2 separate regions of the Homo sapiens genome follow, and region 1 is linked to region 2. Evidence: promoter capture Hi-C in human tissues and cell types (Jung and others, 2019). All regions are on one chromosome and are shown on one strand. Each heading gives the region's core, a stretch centred on a gene start or on the middle of the fragment in contact. The rest is flanking DNA. Distances are from core to core; before and after follow the strand shown. Region 1 has its middle 61 kb from the start of MVB12B. Region 2 holds the start of MVB12B (multivesicular body subunit 12B).

Region 1 (2,849 bases), core at 3-2,502, 61 kb before region 2:
GCATAGTACGGATTTAAAATAGTTTATTGAATCACATTCTGTTTGATGGACACTTAGATTATTTCCAAGTTTTGCTATTATAGAGAATGCTGCAGCAGACAGCATGTACAAGCTGCCTTAGGAATGTTTGACAATGTTTCTTGCTCTAAGGTAGCAAAGACATGGAATTGTGTTACACAGTGTACAGTTTTTCATCTCAGTCCTGCCCAAATGCCCTTGAAAGTGGGAATGCCATTTTGAGTACATTTTATACAAACTTTATATTGCTCTTATAATGTATGAATGTATTACCCCCATCTTGCCAACACTTATTATATTCAAACTTAAAAAAATTGCTAAGGTAATGAGTGAAGAATAGTATCTCTTTATTTTACTTTGCAGCAAGTTCCCTGATTATTAGTAAAATGAAGCATCTTTTAAAATAGGATTAGTGACCATTATTAATTTCCTTTTCTGTGGATTGCCTATCCACATCCTTTGTCCATTTTCTATTAGATTGCTGGATTTTTTTTCTCACTGATTTGTAAGAGTCCTTTCATCTTGATCCTAGTCCTTTGTCTCTTAAATAGGTTGTCAATATTTTTGGCACACTTGTCATTTTTCAAAATCTTTTGTAGTGTCATTTATCATGCAGAATTATGACTTATAGTGTAGTCAAATTTATTAAACTTTGCGTTTATGGCTTTTGGTTTCTGTGCCTTATCTAAGAAGCTGCCTGTGCCCCAAGTTGATATTAAAGTCTCCTACATCTCCTACATTTCTTCTAATACAATTGTTTTACATTTTGCTCTTAGGATTTTAATTTATTGAACTTTTTCTTATGGATAGTGTGAGGTAGGATCTAATTTTATTTTTTCCAAATAGTATACAATTTTTCCAATATCATTTATTGAACACTACATAGTTTACTCAAGCATTTGGCATTGTATCTTATTTAAATTCATAAATCAGTGAACACGGTATATCTGAACTCTACTCAGTTCTGTTCATTTAATTGCCTTCTCCAGCACCAATATCACACCCTTTTAATTCCTATTATTTTATAAAATTATGACTCTTATAGAACAAAAATAGATTCTTTTAAATATTCCTCTGGTCAATTCATGTACATTTGTTCTTCCATATTAATTTTAGAACCAGCTTGTAAAATTCCATGAAAAATCATATCGAGTTGCAATTGATATCTCATTGATTTTAAAGGCTATTTTGAAAGAATTTATTTTATTTTCCAAATGCTTTAAGCTTTTTATTTGCTTACACTTCTGTTATGAATTTTTTGTTTTATTGCATGCAAGAAAATACAGCCTTCTCCCAGCAATAAATGCTAATTGAGAACCTACTCAATTGTATAGCCACTGTACTGGACTCTGAGGACCGAGTTGTGATGAGACAGATATGTTCTCTGCTCTCTTGTGGCTTAAACTTCCTATCTTTTGAAAGTTATTAACATTTCCTTTGTGGGTTAGAAAAATGATTACTTTTTTTTAAAATGCTAACTGGAACGTGTTAAGATTATATATTCTATATTTGTAGATTGCCGATTTTGAAATGTATCTAGTAAATAACCTTATTAATGAAATTATTCATATCTCTCATATTTTTATTTCTTTTTGCCTACTTGATTTGACAAAGACTAAGCAATGCAATAATATTAAGGTACCCTATTAAGATTGTGACTTTGCCAAATTCATCTTGTTATTTCTCATAGCTTTTGCTTGTATATTGCTTTTTAAAAATTACCATTTGTTAGATTTTTTTAATAAAGAAAATGTTAAAGAATATCCCATAATCTCACCATCAACATAATCTTTGCTAACCCCTATTGTGTGTGCACATGCATGCACACACACAGGGCTAGGAAATACAAATGGTACAGAAACACTGAAAACAAAAACTCAAGTCTTCTGTGTCACTATCCCTCTTTCCACTGCTAACCATTGGCAGGATTTATCTGCAGTAACCTTCCTTCCCTCCAGTGCTGTCCCATAGAAGCTGCCGTTTCTGGAACTTCAGTGATGAACTGGACGTGGGCTCTATCTAATGACACAGCCTCCATCATGACTTGGAGCTGGTGTTCTCAAAACCCTACCCCAGTCCTGTTGCCGATGCCTCCTGCTCTGAAACTGCTTAAGGCTAAGAAGCCTTCCTTCTAGAGCAGTGCTTCTCGCGTGTCCATGTGCACACAGATCCCGAGGGATGTTGATAAAAAGCAGATTCTAATTCAGTGGGCTGGTGTAAGACCTAAGATTCCGCGTCTTTTTTAAGACAGAGTCTTACTCTGTCGGCCAGGCTGGAGTGCAATAACGTGATCTCGGCTTACTGCAACCTCTGCCTCCTGGGTTCAATGATTCTCATGACTCAGCCTCCCAAGTAGCTGGGATTACAGGCGCTTGCCATCGCGCCCAGCTAATTTTTGTATTTTTAGTAGAGACAGGGTTTCACCATGTTGGCCAGGCTGGTCTTGAACTCCTGACCTAGGGCAATCCACCCACTTCGGCCTCCTAAAGTGCTGGGATTACAGGCGTGAGCCACCGTGCCCGGCAGATTCTGCATTTCTAACAAGGTAACGAGAGTGATGTTTGTGGGCCAACCTTTGAGGAGCAAGGACCTGTCCTTAAACTTGGCTGTACTTCGGAATCTCTTGAGGAGTTTTATAAAATATGAATGTCTGGGTAACAACCTCCACCCCCCCCAACCCCCACCCAAGAAATTCTGATTTGGTATGGGTTGCAGCCTACACATAGAGCAGGTGAAAAGCTCCCAGGTAATTCTAATATGCAGCAAAATCTGAGAACCACTGTTCTACAGATGCTGTCTCCCTCATCTCCACACTTGCTTTTGCTGCAAAT
Region 2 (2,700 bases), core at 77-2,576:
GATTTTGGTATCAGGGTTATGCTAAACTTGGGAAATGAAATAAAAATTTTTGTTTCTTTTGTTTATTTTTTCCTGTGTAACAGTTTAAGTAACATAGGGATGATCTGTGCCCTGATGGGAGGATAAGGCTTGCTGTAAAGCCATCTGAACCCATGGCATTTCTGAGTAGTGAAGACACTGGGAATGCACACGTGCATGGCTTCCCTACAGGATGTTTCCCCCGACAGCCCATTCTGCTTGGCACCCTTCTCTTTAGGATCAAACAGCTATTATGGAAAAGCCTAGAATGTGTGAAAATGAGACTCAATGCATTAGCAAATCAATGCTGATCACTCCTGCATGGTCCTCAAGTCCTAACGAATGCTCCAGCCTCCTGGCAGGAAACCTTTCAAATCTTGCACACGCTGGCCTCTGCCTGGGGTGCCTGGCTGGGCGGTGTGGGGGGCATGGTTGGTTAAGGCGCAGAGTCCGCCTTTCCTACCAGCCACTCTAGCTGAGGGTCAAGCTCTGGACCCTCCCCCAACCATCCAGCTCCATTTTATCCTTGGCTTATGCCTTCCCCAAGTACTGCAGGGTAGGACTCCTGCTAAAAACTTCTTCTAGATGCTTGCCTGAGGCTGGCCCCATAAACCTGATTCTAGGCTTCTGGGGATAAATCATCTAACTAATATAAGAGAATTGCTAGGCAATTGGGGTTAGTTTGAGACGACTGGCTGAGCTCACCTTAGGTGAGCTGGGGGGTGGGGGAAGATGAGCTGAAGGATTCTAGGGTTCAGTGAAGCCTAGAATGGCTGGGTGGGCGGAGAGTCCTTAGAAGGGTCCAACTTCTAGCCTGAGGGCCTGGGGGCTTCCAGGGATCTGCAGCCGAGCGGAAGACCGGTCTTGCGTACAGCGAGGCCTACGAGAGCTAAGTGGGCTGAGGGTCCCTGGAAAAGACCAGCCTGGGGGCGGGGACCATCGATGCCCCAGGCTCTAGAGGCCGTGGGCTCCCGGGGGCCTGAGGCTGGACTGGGGTCGCCGGCGGGCTCGGGGAGGCCCGGGTGGGCGCACCGGGGCCCTGCCTGCGGCTGACGGGCTGGGTCGAGGGGGAGGCTGGGGAGGCGGGGTGCCGGCCGGGGCGGCGGCGCGGGCTCGGGACGCCAGGGCTCCCTCTCCCTCCTCCCGCCCGAGCCAGCCTCGGGCGCCGGGCGCCTCCCCCGATCCTGAACCAGCGCCAGCGCCGGGAGGCCCGGAGCCCGGCCCGCCGCCGCGGCCCGCGGAGGGAGCCGCCGCCGCCACTGCCGTTGTCGCCGCCGCCGCCAGGCCGCGCCCCGCCCCTCCGCCGCCGCCGCCGCCGCCGCCGCTCTCGGTGAGGCTCGCGCTCGAGCTGCGGCGCCGGCTCCTGCCGCCTGGGCCCCGGGCCCGGCCCCTCCCGCGCCGCCCGGGCGATGAGAAGCTGCTTCTGCGTGAGACGGAGCCGGGACCCGCCGCCGCCGCAGCCACCGCCGCCGCCGCCCCAGCGGGGAACAGTTAAGTGAGGCCCGGGCGCCGCGGAGGCTCGGCGGAGCCGGCCCTGCAGCCGGGAGGGCGGGCGGGCGGGCGCGGGCCCCCGGCCGAGGGGCGGGCGGACGGGAGGAGCCGGGCCGCGCCGAGGCCTGCGGGCTCCGTGCCCGGCCCGCGGCGGGGACAGGCCCGGGCGGCCTTTGCAGAGCCCCGAGCGCGCCGCGGCTGCCGGTGCCCGGGCTCGGCCTGGCGGCGAGAGGCGGGAGAAGCTGGGGGACCCGAGTGCCAGCAGCGCCCCCAAGGCCCGGGCAGGTGAGGGGCGCCGAGAGCCACCTCTGCCCGCGTGAGAGGGAGGCGGCCCACCTGGGCACAGACTGGGAACAGTCAATCGTTTGACCGGCCTGGCCTGGGGTCCTGCTCTCTCTGGTCACGTGGGTGCAGACCAACGTGCACCTGCCCCAGGAGCATCACTGCCTCTGTGACCTGGGCACAGCAGAGAGGACACCTAAACCCTCAGGCACCTGTCTGGAAGGTGACATGCCCAGCCTGGGTACCCGAGACCCAGAGCACCCATCCAGGAACATGGTGGGCACGTCGAGCACCCTACAGTGACTCCAACACCAGCGAGACGGGAGGAGCAGGGGCTGGGACAAGAGCTGAGGCATGGCACCAGGGGACATCACATCCTCAGAGGCAGGCACCAGGGAACGGGGTAGACCCAAGAGCATCTTTTGTCCTCTTTGTTACCAACACACAACTGTTCTAAATCAGCAGCCCTTCTCACCATGAAAGATGAGACTCTTCTGTTCCCTGCCCCTCAACACCTCTTGCACAAGGCACTGAGGAAGACCACAGGAGGGCAAAAGGCAAATGGTGGTTGCCCCTTCCCTGCTTCCTGCCCCCACCCAAGAACCAGAGCCCACTCCGATTGCTGCCACAAAAGCAGACAGCAGACCAGCTCCTCTTAGGGGCCTTTGTCTCTCGTGGTTCCTTCTCAGTATAATCTCATTGTACATTTCTCGACAGCTGGCTGGATCTCATCTCGTTTTAACAGGGCTGGGAAATCTTATCAGCGGCACCAGGAAAGCTTAGAGAGTTAAAAAATAAGCTCTGTGAAGCCTTGACTAACTGAAAAACTCAATGTGCTAGGATGTTTAGTTACAGTAGATGGTGACACCTTTCTTGCTTGTTAGAAATCATGTGGGGTCCTTGGAGATA

What was found. The method cuts DNA at HindIII sites, captures the fragments that hold promoters and counts their contacts. A contact is called where the count stands out against the background at its distance.
Region 1: a contact is called between a fragment that was not itself captured here and the fragment with the promoter of MVB12B in region 2, in 1 of the 25 tissues and cell types used here (lymphoblastoid cells).

Annotation. Positions count from the first base shown.
Region 1 is chr9:126,264,692-126,267,540 of GRCh38, forward strand. No RefSeq gene overlaps it. Among named protein-coding and RNA genes, the nearest start is that of MVB12B, 61 kb to the right of the region's middle. The HindIII fragment of the contact is 5,437 bases long and covers 1-2,849 here.
Region 2 is chr9:126,325,503-126,328,202 of GRCh38, forward strand. It overlaps MVB12B (multivesicular body subunit 12B), which reads left to right and starts at 1,327. Exons shown (of 10, transcript NM_033446.3): 1 at 1,327-1,508. The coding sequence starts at 1,428. RefSeq lists a silencer at 1,312-1,451 and an enhancer at 1,893-2,544. The HindIII fragment of the contact is 8,205 bases long and covers 1-2,700 here.